Linked DNA regions of Homo sapiens: region 2 is linked to region 1. The links are contacts of gene promoters, found by promoter capture Hi-C in human tissues and cell types (Jung and others, 2019). All regions are on one chromosome and are shown on one strand. The core of a region is centred on a gene start or on the middle of the fragment in contact, and the rest is flanking DNA. Distances in the headings are between cores, read along the strand shown.

The links. Contacts are between HindIII fragments. The study calls those that stand out against the background at their distance.
Region 2: a contact is called between a fragment that was not itself captured here and the fragment with the promoter of SLC45A1 in region 1, in 1 of the 25 tissues and cell types used here (adrenal gland).

The regions. Positions count from the first base shown.
Region 1 is chr1:8,314,462-8,320,365 of GRCh38, forward strand. SLC45A1 (solute carrier family 45 member 1) reads left to right here and starts at 3,653. Exons shown (of 9, transcript NM_001080397.3): 1 at 3,653-3,725. RefSeq lists silencers at 4-53, 3,483-3,762. The HindIII fragment of the contact is 6,823 bases long and covers 653-5,904 here.
Region 2 is chr1:8,692,476-8,698,393 of GRCh38, forward strand. All of the region lies in intron 1 of RERE (arginine-glutamic acid dipeptide repeats), which reads right to left. Among named protein-coding and RNA genes, the nearest start is that of RERE, 120 kb to the right of the region's middle. RefSeq lists a silencer at 695-989. The HindIII fragment of the contact is 5,747 bases long and covers 1,500-5,918 here.

The DNA of each region.
Region 1 (5,904 bases), core at 2,403-4,902:
GGTGGGACTCTTCCACCACCTTGTGGACACCCAGGGATGGCAGGTGAGCAGGCTTCCACCGCCTCACACCAGCTCTCCTCTGCACTGTTGGAGCCTATTATTCTGGGTCCGACTGGGTCTCTCTAGGCTCACACTGTGCATGTCCTGTCTCCATCCTCTGTTCCTTTCTGGGCTGGGGCAGTGGATGGGGCTCCTGTGTCCTCCTGGCTGCCTGCCGGTCCCCGTGTACGTGGCAGGGCTGCAGCAGTCCCCTGTTTTCCTTAGATCCTGGCGTGGAGTTGGTGTGGCTCCTGCTTCCCTGGGGCCCTGGCTGGCCCCGTAGACCCCTCCAGGTCTCTCTGCCAAAGTCCCCCCACCCAGCCACCTGGCCCAACTGTCCTTCCCACAGTGAGGCTGAGGGTCCCCCCACCCCACGTCATGTCCCAGCCCCACGGGGCCATTGCAGCTTCAGCTCTGCATCCAGGCACTGAATGGGAGCCACAAGAGCCTCACAGGGCAAATTAGAGCCCCCACTGTTCTGATCCCCCAGCCGGGCTGCGGCCGCTGTGTTGGTGTACGGGGGCTCTGCCCAGAGCAAACTCTGCCACGACAGGGCTGAGGCGCAGGGAGAAAGGAGCTGGGATGCACCCCAAGCACCTTCCTCCCCCTCACTCTCCCTCCTCCCTCTGCCATCCTTCCCCCACACCCAGGACCGGAAGGGCGAGCGTCTCTTGTCTTTCCTGCATGTTCTGTCAGCCCCTTCCACTCTGGCCCCCAGTCTAGACCTATTGTCGAGACAGGAGAAATCTTGTCTGCCCCCAGGGAGAAACACTGCTCTCTGCCCTGAACTTGGAGGGGCTAAAAAGCAAAAGCTCTAGCCTTAGAAGGTTCTCACTTTGGAAGTTTAAAAAAGGTCAAAGGAATTTTCAAAATCCCTTTCTTTCTCAACAATGCTTAGATTTCAAACCTCTTCTCTTGTTGCAAAATCCCGTTGTGAACATCAGAACCTCGAGATGATCTTTAAGTTTTCTCAGCATTCCCCATCTTCTCTCCCCTCTGCAAGCAGCTAAAAGTTACAGAAGCAGTTGAAGCCAGCAACTCCCCACCCCCATCTCCTCCTCTCCTGGGGACAGGGGCCCCATCTCTCAGCCCTGTTGTGGGTTGGGTGTGGCCGGTGTGGCTGTGTGGCAGGGTCCTAGCCAATGGGATTCGAGTGGAACGTGGGCCTCCTGCACACCTGGCCCCGTGGGCAGGCACCACCTGGGCTCCTCCCTCAGTGCACCAGGGCAGAGCAAGATGGAGGCAACCGGGATCCCTGAATGGCTTCACAGAGGTCCCCACCCATCAGGCACACTTCTGCCAACCTCATGTGGAAGTAAGCTTCTATTGCATTAAGTCCCTGAGGTGCTGAAGCTCATCAGTTGATGGCAGGCCACTTGCATGCAAAATAGAAAAGGACATCGGTATTTTTTTCAAGCTGTTACCCTGTTATAGAGATAAAAGAAGCCAGAACCAGCCCCCTCCAGTGGCTCCTTCTCTTCAGCCTGGGCAGGATCTGTTGAAATTCCCATGGTGTCCTCTGGGGCCCTCTGCCCTGCGCCTCTCCCTGGCAGTGCGAGGTCCACAGTTCACCTGCAATTAGCTCCCATGTGCAGGGGACTCATAAAGGAGCATCTTTGAGCTCCAGACCCAAGTGTCTGGTGGCCTAGAGGCTGCGAAGGCCCTCAAGCTCAGCATATCCCAAAGCAAACCTATGGCATTCACTCCAGCACACACCTGCTTTGGCCTCCATGAATCCACTCTCTTCCCTCATCGCTCAAGCTAGAAACTTCTTAGCACCACCCTCGCTGTTCCTGTACCCCCCCACCTTCAGTCAATCATGGAGTCCTAAGTCCCCGGCCAGTCCATCACCTCTCTCCCTCTACCAACACCCCCAACTCTCCCACCTGTGCCACCCGGTACGCCCATGTGGTCCCCTGGTTCCCTCCAATCTGTTTTCACTCTGAGCTTTATGATCTTTGCTAACTGTGAATAGGATTCATGCCATCCACTCCCCTACATAAAACCTTTCTAGGCTTCTCTTTGCTCTTAGAAACTGGCAACTGCCTAAGAGGCCACACCTGGGCCTGTCCCACCTCCCCAGCCCTCACCTCCTTCCCAGGCCTCTGCATCCCTGTCCCCCTCCACTTCCTTTGCAGTGTGCCTCCAGGCCCTCTCCCCTCCGGAGCTCTGCCAGTGCAGAGCTCTCTGAGCCCTCTGTGTGGGACATGCTGTTCTCTCTACTTGGCCTGGTAGGGCTCCTTGAGGAGCCCTCGACCCTCCCAATGGGGTGGAATCCGCCGCGGTAAACTTCCACAGGGCCCCGTGCCCCCACTCTGCAGCGCTTCCCTGGGGTTATTATTCCACTACCAGCTGCATAATTATTTCATCCGTAATTATTGGACTCAGCCCAGCTCACTTCTGCCCCTGGCCTTTGCACTTGCTCTTCCCAGTGCCTGGCGTGACCTTCCCCACACGTCAGTCTGGCTGGCCCCCCTAGCTCCTCAGGTCCTTCTTTTCTTTTTGAGATGGAGTCTCACTCTGTGGCCCAGGCTGGAGTGCAGTGGCACGATCTCAGCTCACTGCAACCCCTGCCTCCCAGGTTCAAGCGATTCTCCTGCCTCAGCTGAGTAGCTGAGATTACAGGCACCCAGCACCACGTGTGGCTAATTTTTATATTTTTAGTAGAGATGGGGGTTTTGCCATGTTGGCCAGGCTGGTCTCGAACTCCAGACCTCAGGTGATCTGCCCCTCTCGGCCTCCCAGAGCGCAGGGATTACAGGTGTGAGCCACCGTGCCCGGCCTGCTCCGCAAATCCTCCTTCTAGTGTCACCTTCCAGGTGAGGACTCGCCAACAACCTGATAGAAACCTGCAAGGCCAGCGCCTCTGCAGCCCCACACTCCCTAACCCCTTCTCTAGGGCATTGCCATCTTCTGACATACCATTTATTTTATGTCTTGTTTAATGTGTGTGTGTCTCTCTCTTAAATGTCATGCAGCCGGGTGCGGTGGCTCACACCTGTACTTTGGGAGGCCGAGGCAGAAGGATCACTTGAGCCCAGGAGTCGAGACCAGCCTGGGCAACATAGCAAGGCCCTGCCTCTCTGTATTTTAAAAAATGAAGTAAATAATAAATACATAAAGTATTTATGTATTTACTTACATTACAAAGTTCCCCCAGGGGCGGGAACTTTGCCTTGTTCTTGCGGCATCCCCAGTGCCTTGGACAGCTCCGGGCCCAGAGTCGCGACGCCTCCAGCAGGCCCGGCTGCCCCACTGCGCACATGGGCACAGGCTTGGCACACGCACTGCGGCATTCACGTATCCGCGAACACATGGGTATCTATTTATACATGAAGACACGAAAATGTATTTATTTCTTTTAAAATCAGAAGAAAACGGTGAGAACTGTGAGGCCGGGGGGACGTTTTCCTCCGGGATCCTGGCAGATCCTGCAGACCGCGCCGTCGTGCGCGAAGCACCGGGACGGGCCTCCCGCGGGAAGGGCCCAGGAGGACACCGGGCTCCCCTCCCGCCCGCGGGGCCCCAGACGCGGCGCCGCTTTAAGGCTCCGGGCCCCGCGCGGATGCGGAGGCTGCGGCCGTGACGTCAGCGCCCCGCCCCGGGTGATGCTGCAGCAGCCGGGACCGCGGCCGGGCAGGCAGCAGCCCAGCGGGGACAGGGATGCCTGCCGTCTCCACCCACAGGTACCACCGTCTCCTCCGCGCCCTCCGCCCGCTCTCTGGCTCCGTGCCTGCCGGGGCGCCGCGCCCTGGGCCCCGGGGTAGTCAGGGCGCCGAGACCGGGACCCGAGGCCGGCACGGAGACCTTTGTTCCTCGTGGAAGTCTCATGAATTGCAGAGTCCACGGAGCTCCCCCGTCTCGCCCCTCCGAGGGCAGGAGCCTCGGGCCCAGGGGAGGGTGCCGGCCAGATGGCAGGTGCTCTCATCCTTGCTGGCAAGGGGAGGAGACCCCGGCCTTGGCCCCAGCTCCTGATGCGCTCCTTGAGCCGGAGGCCTGGTCCCTAGTCACCTGGGCAGGTGTCATCCGCTCCCGGCTCACCTCTTGCGTGGGGCTGAGCCCTCTTGTTGACCAGGGGCCTGGCAACGCCCCTCAGCATCCCAGGGTTACTTAGCGAGGGCACCGAGGACTCCCCTTTCCCGAGCGAGTCAGCACCAAGGGGAACGCGCTGAGGTGGAAGCCGTTCAGCTCCTTCTGCCCTCGACAATCAGCAACTTCTCTAATTATTTCTAGAGTGACAGCCGTGCATGTTTTTCAGCTCTTACAGGGAAGCAGAGTCAGGGGCGGAGGAAAGCCACGTTCAGGCTGCACCTGGCCTGGGCTTTTGGGAAAAGTTGGCCCTGGAGTAGGGGTCAAGCTGCCGGAGATGCAAAGTGGGAAACGGCCACGATTCAGTAACTAGCCTATTAAGTGCACCCTCCCAAGTCCGTAGAGCACCTTCCTGGTCCTGGAGGACCTCACTGAAGAATTTTGAGAATGGGTAGAAAGAAGCATGAGGGGTCGGGCGCGGTGGCTCATGCCTGTAATCCCAGCACTTTGGGAGGCTGAGTCGGGTGGATCACCTGAGGTCAGGAGTTCAAGACCAGCCTGGCCAACATGGTGAAACCCCATCTCTACTAAAAATACAAAATTAGCCGGGCGTGGTGGCACATGCCTGTAATCCCAGCTACTTGGGAAGCTGAGGCAGGAGAATCGCTTGAACCCAGGAGGCGGAGGTTGCAGTGAACCCAGATCATGCCACTGCACTCTAGTCTGGGCGATAGAGTGAGACTCCGTCTCAAATAAACAAATAAGCAAATACGCCCTAGGAAGGGAGGTGGCCCAAGGCAACCCCGTGGGGGGAGCTCATTTTCATAACGAGAAGAAAGAAATGAGGAAATGGTTTCCGCTCGTAGTAGGATCATTGTAAGCATTCAAACTACATTGACATTGATTACTTTTATTAATCATTTGCCGCTTAAACTTCCCACAACACAGTTTGAGGAATCTGTTACTTTAAGCATCCTCTGTACTCTGGAAGCACAGTGGACCCCTTGCATAGCCTTCGGGGGATCCAGGGAGATGAGTGGATTTCCTTTTGACCGAGTAAATGGTCATATGGTACAGTAAAGATGGTCTGGCGAATGTTTGTATTTGTGCATGAAAATTAGATTTTATGATCTTAAATTCCACTTTCACCCATTTTTATGGGAACCTTAAAAATGGATTTTTGTTGTTGTTGTTGTTGTTTTTTGAGACAAGAGTCTCACTCTGTTGCCCAGGCTGGAGTGCAGTGGTGCGATCTCAGCTCGCTACAACCTCCACCTCCTGGGTTCAAGCGATTCTCCTGCCTCAGCCTCCGGAGTAGCTGGGATTACAGGCACTCGCCACCATGCCCAGCTAATTTTTTGTATTTTTAGTAGAGACGGGGTTTCTCCATGTTGGCCAGGCTGGTCTCGAACTCCTGAGCTCAGGTGATCCACCCACCTCGGCCTCCCAAAGTGCTGGCATTACAGGCGTCAGCCACTGTGCCCGGTCTCAAAAATGAGTTTCTAAAATTCTTCTTATGATAAACATTTGTGAACAGTTTTTACTAAATGTAGTTTTAATAAAAATGGTAATGCTGATCCCCAGATTTGAAGATGAATCCTTAGTAAAGACTTCTTCTGAGCCAGGATTAAGCTAGGTTTAATTCTGGTTCAGATGCTAGAGAGAAGTTCATTGAGTGTGTGAGGATCTCCCTTCTGCTAGGACAGGCTGCAGTGGGGTGTGGCGGAGGTGGCAGTAGAGTTGTCCTCTTGCAGGTAGAGAAGTGGGCCGTCTACATAGTCCACTTTAAATAAGGTCAAAGAGGCTCCTCTTTTCAAAAAGACACTTCAGGGGCTG
Region 2 (5,918 bases), core at 3,123-5,622, 380 kb after region 1:
AGCTGCGACTAGAGGCGCCTACCACCACATCTGGCTAATATTTTTGTATTTTTAGTAGAGACAGGGTTTCACTATAATGGCCAGGCTGGTCTCTAACTCCTGATCTCAAGTGATCTGCCCGTCTAGGCCTCCCAAAGTGCTGGGATTACAGGCATGAGCCACCGTATTCGGCCCGGTATACTTTAAAAAGAATCTCTAGATTACGTATAATACCTAATATAATATAAACGCTATATTTTTTAATTTGTGCTTTTTTCTAAACATTTTTGCCCCACAGTTGATTAAATCCGTGGACACAGAAGCCAAGAATACAAAGGGCTTAGTGTAGCATATTTTACATGAACCCTAACCTATCACTCTACCAGAATTATGCCCATTTAAAAATCTAATTAGATTGTATTATTCCTTTTTACATCTAAAGTTTATGCTTTCCGCTTACAAGACAGAGTATGAGGCACATGTAATGCATAAGATTTATGGTCCTCGTTTCTCCTGCTCCATGACAAATAGTAGAGAAAAATAAAAACTGTAACAGAGCTGGCATCGGAAATGAGCAGTTATATGAAAAAAAAAATTTAATAACTAAGAAGGGCTAAAATCCACTACACTGACAACACCAAATGGTAGCAAGTATGTGGAGCAACAGAAACTCTCATTCATTGCTTGTGGGAATGCAAAATGCTAGAGACACCTCGCAAGACAGCATGGCCGTTTCTTACAAAACTAAACATACTCTTACCATGGGACACAGAAATCACACACCTTCATATTTACTCAAAGGAGCTGAAAACTTATCTCACCACAAAAAACTGCACACAGATGCTTAAAGCAGCTTTATTCATCATTGCCAAAACCTGGAAGCAATCCAGATGTCCTTCGGTAGGTAAGCAGATAAATAAACTTCAGCACAGCTACATGATGGAATATTATCAGTGATAAAAAGTAGTGAGCTATCATGCTCACAGAGACATGGAGAAACCTTAAGTACATTTTGCTAAGAGAAATAAACCAATCTGAAAAGACTACATACTGTATGAGTCCAGTTATATGACATCTGGAAAGCAAACCTATGGAGATATTAAAAAAGATCAGTGGTGGCCAGGGGCTTGGGGGCAGAGAGGGAGGGATGAATAGGGAGAACATAGGGCATGTTTAGAGCAGTAAAGACTCTTCTATATGATATTGTAATGGTAGATGCATGTTATGAAACATTTCAAAACCCATGGAATGTATAACACCAAGAGTGAACCTTAACATACACTATAGACTTTAGTTATAAATAATGTATCAATATTGGCTCATCAACAATAACAATGTACCAAACTAATTCAAGATGTTAATAGGGGAAACTGGGAGTTAGGGGGGATGCGGGAACTCTGTACTTTCTACTCAATTTATCTGCAAACCCAAAACCATTCTAAAAACTAGTCTACTGATTTAATGTTTTAAAATTTTTTAATGTTTTAATCTACCATATAAAATAAAATGCTACTTATCTAAATGCTTAAATGTTAGGCCTGTTAGCAAAACTGAACAACACCAATTTTCTTTCCCAAAAAAAAAAAAAAAAAAGGCCAGATTGCTTTAATCCTTACATTTTCCGCACTTTTAGTTCTCCTTTTCCATTCAAAGAGCCAGGAAGTGCTAGCCAGAGCAATCAGGCAACAGAAAGAAATAAAAGGCATCCAAACAGGAAAAGAAGAAGTCAAGCTACTGCTCTTTGCTGGCAATATGATTCTATACCTAGAAAACCCTGAAGACGCCATCAAAAGACTCCTGGTACAATAAACAACTTCAGTAAAAGTTTCAGGATACAAAGTCAATGTACAAAACTCAGCAGTATGTCTATACACCAATAATGTTGAAGCTGAGAGCCAATCCAGAATGCAATCCTATTTATAATAGCCATAAAGAAAGAAAATAACTAGGAATACACCTAACCAAGGAGGGGGAAAATCTCTGCAAAGAGAACTAAAACACACTGCTAGAAGAAATGACAGGTGGGCTGGGCGGGGTGGCTCACGCTTGTAATCCAAGCACTTTGGGAGGTTGAGGCGGGCAGATCACAAGGTCAGGAATTCAAGACCAGCCTGATCAATATGGTGAAACCCCATCTCTACTAAAAATACAAAAATTAGCCGGGCGTGGTGGCACATGCCTGTAGTTCCAGCTACTCGGGAGACTGAGGCAGGAGAATCATTTAAACCCGGGAGGCAGAGGTTGAAATGAGCCAAGATCATACCTCTGCATTCACGGCTGGGTGACAAAGCGAGACTCTATCTCAAAAAAAAAAGAAATGACAGATGACACAAATGGAAAAACATTTGATGCTCATAGATTGGAAGAATCATTAAAATGACCACACTTTCCTAAGCAATCTACAGATTTAATGCTATTCCTATCAAACTACTAATGTCATTTTTCACAGAATTAAACAAAGTAATTCTAAAATTCATATGAAACCAAAAAAAGTACCCAAAGAGCCAAAGAAATCCTAAGGGGGGGGGGGGAATGCTGGCAGCATCACATTATCCAACTTCAAGCTATACTATAAGGCTACGGTAATCAAAACAGGAGGGTACAGGTACAAAAACAGACACATAGACCAATGAAACAGAATAGAGAACCTACAAATAAAGTCATAAACCTACAGCCATCTGATCTTTGACAATGCTGACAAAAACAAGCAATGGGTAAAGGACTGCCTATTCAAAAAATGGTGCTGGGATAGCTAGCTAGCCATATGCAGAACTGGACCGCTACCTTTTCCCATATATAAACATCAACTCAAGGTGGATTAAATATTTAAATGCAAGACCACAAACTGTAAAAATCCCAGAAGAAAACCTAAAAAACACCATTCCGACCCTTGGCTTTAGGAAATAATTTATGACTAAGTCCTCAAAAGCAACTGCAACAAAAACAAAAATTGACAACTGGGACCTAATTAAACTAAAGAGCTTCTGCACAGCAAAAGAAACTATCAACAAAGGGCCAGGCATGGTAGCTCATGCCTATAATCCCAGCATTTTGGGAGGCCCAGGGGGGCGGATCACCTGAGGTCAGCAGTTTGAGATCTGCCTGAACAACATGGTGAAGCTCCATTTCTACTAAAAAAAAAAAAAAAAAAAAAAAAAAAGCCAGGCATGGTAGTGAGCGCCTGTAATCCCAGCTACTTGGGAGGCTGAGGCAGAGAATCACTTGAACCTGGGAGGTGGAGGTTGCAGCGAGCTGAGATCACGCCACTGCACTCCAGTCTGGGTAACAGGGTGAGACTCCAACTCAAAAAAACAAAACTGTCAACAAAGTAAACAGACAACCTACAAAATAGCAGAAAATATTTAAATATCATGCATCTGACAAAGGTCTAATACCCAGAATCTATAAGGAACTTTAACAATACAACAAGCAGAAAACAAATAACCCCATTACAAACTAAGCAAAAGGCATTAACAGACATTCCTCAAAAGAAGACATACAAGTGGCCAACAAATATGATAAAATGTTTAACATCATTCATCATCAGAGAGATGCAAATCAAAACCACAATGAAATATCGTCTCACGCCAGTCAGAATGGCTATTATTAAAAAGCCAAAAAACAACAGACACTGGTGAGGCTGTGGATAAAAGGGAACAGTTATACACTGTTGGTGGGAACATAAATTGGTTCAGCCACTGTGGAAAGCAGTTTGGAGATTTCCCATTACCAGGTATACATGCAAAAGAAATTAAATCGTTCTACCAAAAATACACATGCACTCGTATGTTCATCACAGCGCTATACACAATACCAAAGACATGGAATCAACCTAGGAACCCACCAATGATGGACTGATAAAGAAAATGTGGTACAGGCTGGGTACGGTAGCTCGCGTCTGTAATCCCAGCACTATGGGAGGCAGAGGTGAGCAGATCACCCGAGCTCAAGAGTTGGGAGACTAGCCAGGGCAACATGGTAAAACCCCATCTCTACTAAAAAGATAAAAATTAGCCAGGTGTGGTGGCACACATCTGTAGTCCCAGCTACTCAGGAGGCTGAGGCAAAAGAATCGCTTGCACCCGCAAGGTGGAGGTTGCAATGAGCTGAGATTGTGCCACTGAACTCCTGCCTAGGCAACAGAGTGAGACACTCTCACAAATAAACGAACAAGGCTGGGCGCGGTGGTTCACGCCTGTAATCCCAGCACTTTGGGAGGCTGAGGCGAGTGGATTACCTGAGGTCAGGAGTTCGAGACCAGCCTGGCCAACACGGTGAAACCCCATCTCTACTAAAAATACAAAAATTAGCAGGGCATGGTGGCAGGCGCCTGTAGTCCCAGCTACTCAGGAGGCTGAGGCAGGAGTATAGCTTGAACCCAGGAGGCAGAGATTATAGAGAGCTGAGATTGCGCCACTGCACTCCAGCCTCGGCAACAGAGCAAGACTCCATCTCAAAAATAAAAAATAAAATAAAAACAGTTGAAATTATCAAAAAAAAAAAGTAAATAAAATGTAATGGAGGTACTAGTGAAAAAAATAATAAGATCCAAACTCAAATTGCTCCTGCACCCAACACACTTAAGAGTAAATACTGTTAAGAGTCCTTTCCATGAACATCTAACATATTGAGAAAGGTGAATATTTCATTACTGAACATTTACTCTAACCTATGTTAAGAATTATGATCTGTGGAAAGAGCACAGGCTAAGGAAGCTGCCTAGGTAAATAGCCAAAAAACATACACATAAGATGAAAACTTGTCTGCGTCATTTTCCTACCACTCAAAAAAGAAGGTAACAGTAAGAAATAAACAGCAAAAACAAAAAGAAAAAATTGTTCAAATGTTCAATCTAGATATAGGTTTTTCTGTATAATTTAATCAATTAATAAATAAATACACATGTATCTTTCTTCCCCCAACCACACCCCCCCCACACAACTTTTTTTTTTTTTTGAGACGGAGTCTCACTCTGTCCCCCAGGCTGGAGTGCAGTGGCGTGATCTCAGCTCACTGCAAGCTCCGCCTCCCAGGTTCACGTCATTCTCCTGCCTCCGCCTACCGAGTAGCTGGGACTACAGGCACCCGCCAACACACCCGGCTAATTTTTTGTATTTTTACAAAATGTTTTTCACCATGTTAGCCAGGACGGTCTCGATCTCCTGACCTCGTGATCCGCCGCCTCGGCCTCCCAAAGTGCTGGGATTACAGGCGCGAGCCACCACACCCAACCTACCACACACAACTTTCTAAAGTTCCTGGATAATGTTCTAAACTCTTTTTCTATGTTTTACATGTAACTTATGCAAGCCATTCACTTTACTAAGCAAATGAACAGTAGTGTCTGTGGCCAAAAATAATAAGACTTAAAATTTTGAGTCCTTCCAAAAGAACTTGTATTAAATCTTTGGAATAGAAAAAAAAAGTTCATATTAGGGAGTAGATCTGGGTATTGAAAGGCCTGTCTTTTTTTGTTGGTAATGCCAAAGAATGTCATCACACAAGACTCACCTTATAATATTATTTATGTATAAGTTATCAATTACATATATTTAACATTTTAAGTGAAAGCAAGTTTATTAAGAAAGCAAAGGAATAAAGAACGGCTATTCCTTAGGCAGAGTAGCCTATATTTAACATTTTTTAAATGTTTAAAATTATAAAGCTGGTGAGTAAAACAAAAACATCTTTGAGTGATACAGATCGGCAGAATTTCCCCAGCCTCATTCCTGAGAGACCACCACATAAAAATAACTTGGTTATCTGCTTCTGTATGTAAACTCAGGTTGTTTGTGCAAAACATAAACTGCCCCAACTAAGAAATCCTGAAGAACATGCAAAAGGAGGTACTTTCACTGTCATTTTATTAAAAGGCACACAAGTCACTACTGCTGAATATACCACTGTTTCTACCCAGCTATTTTAAAATTATTGGTAGA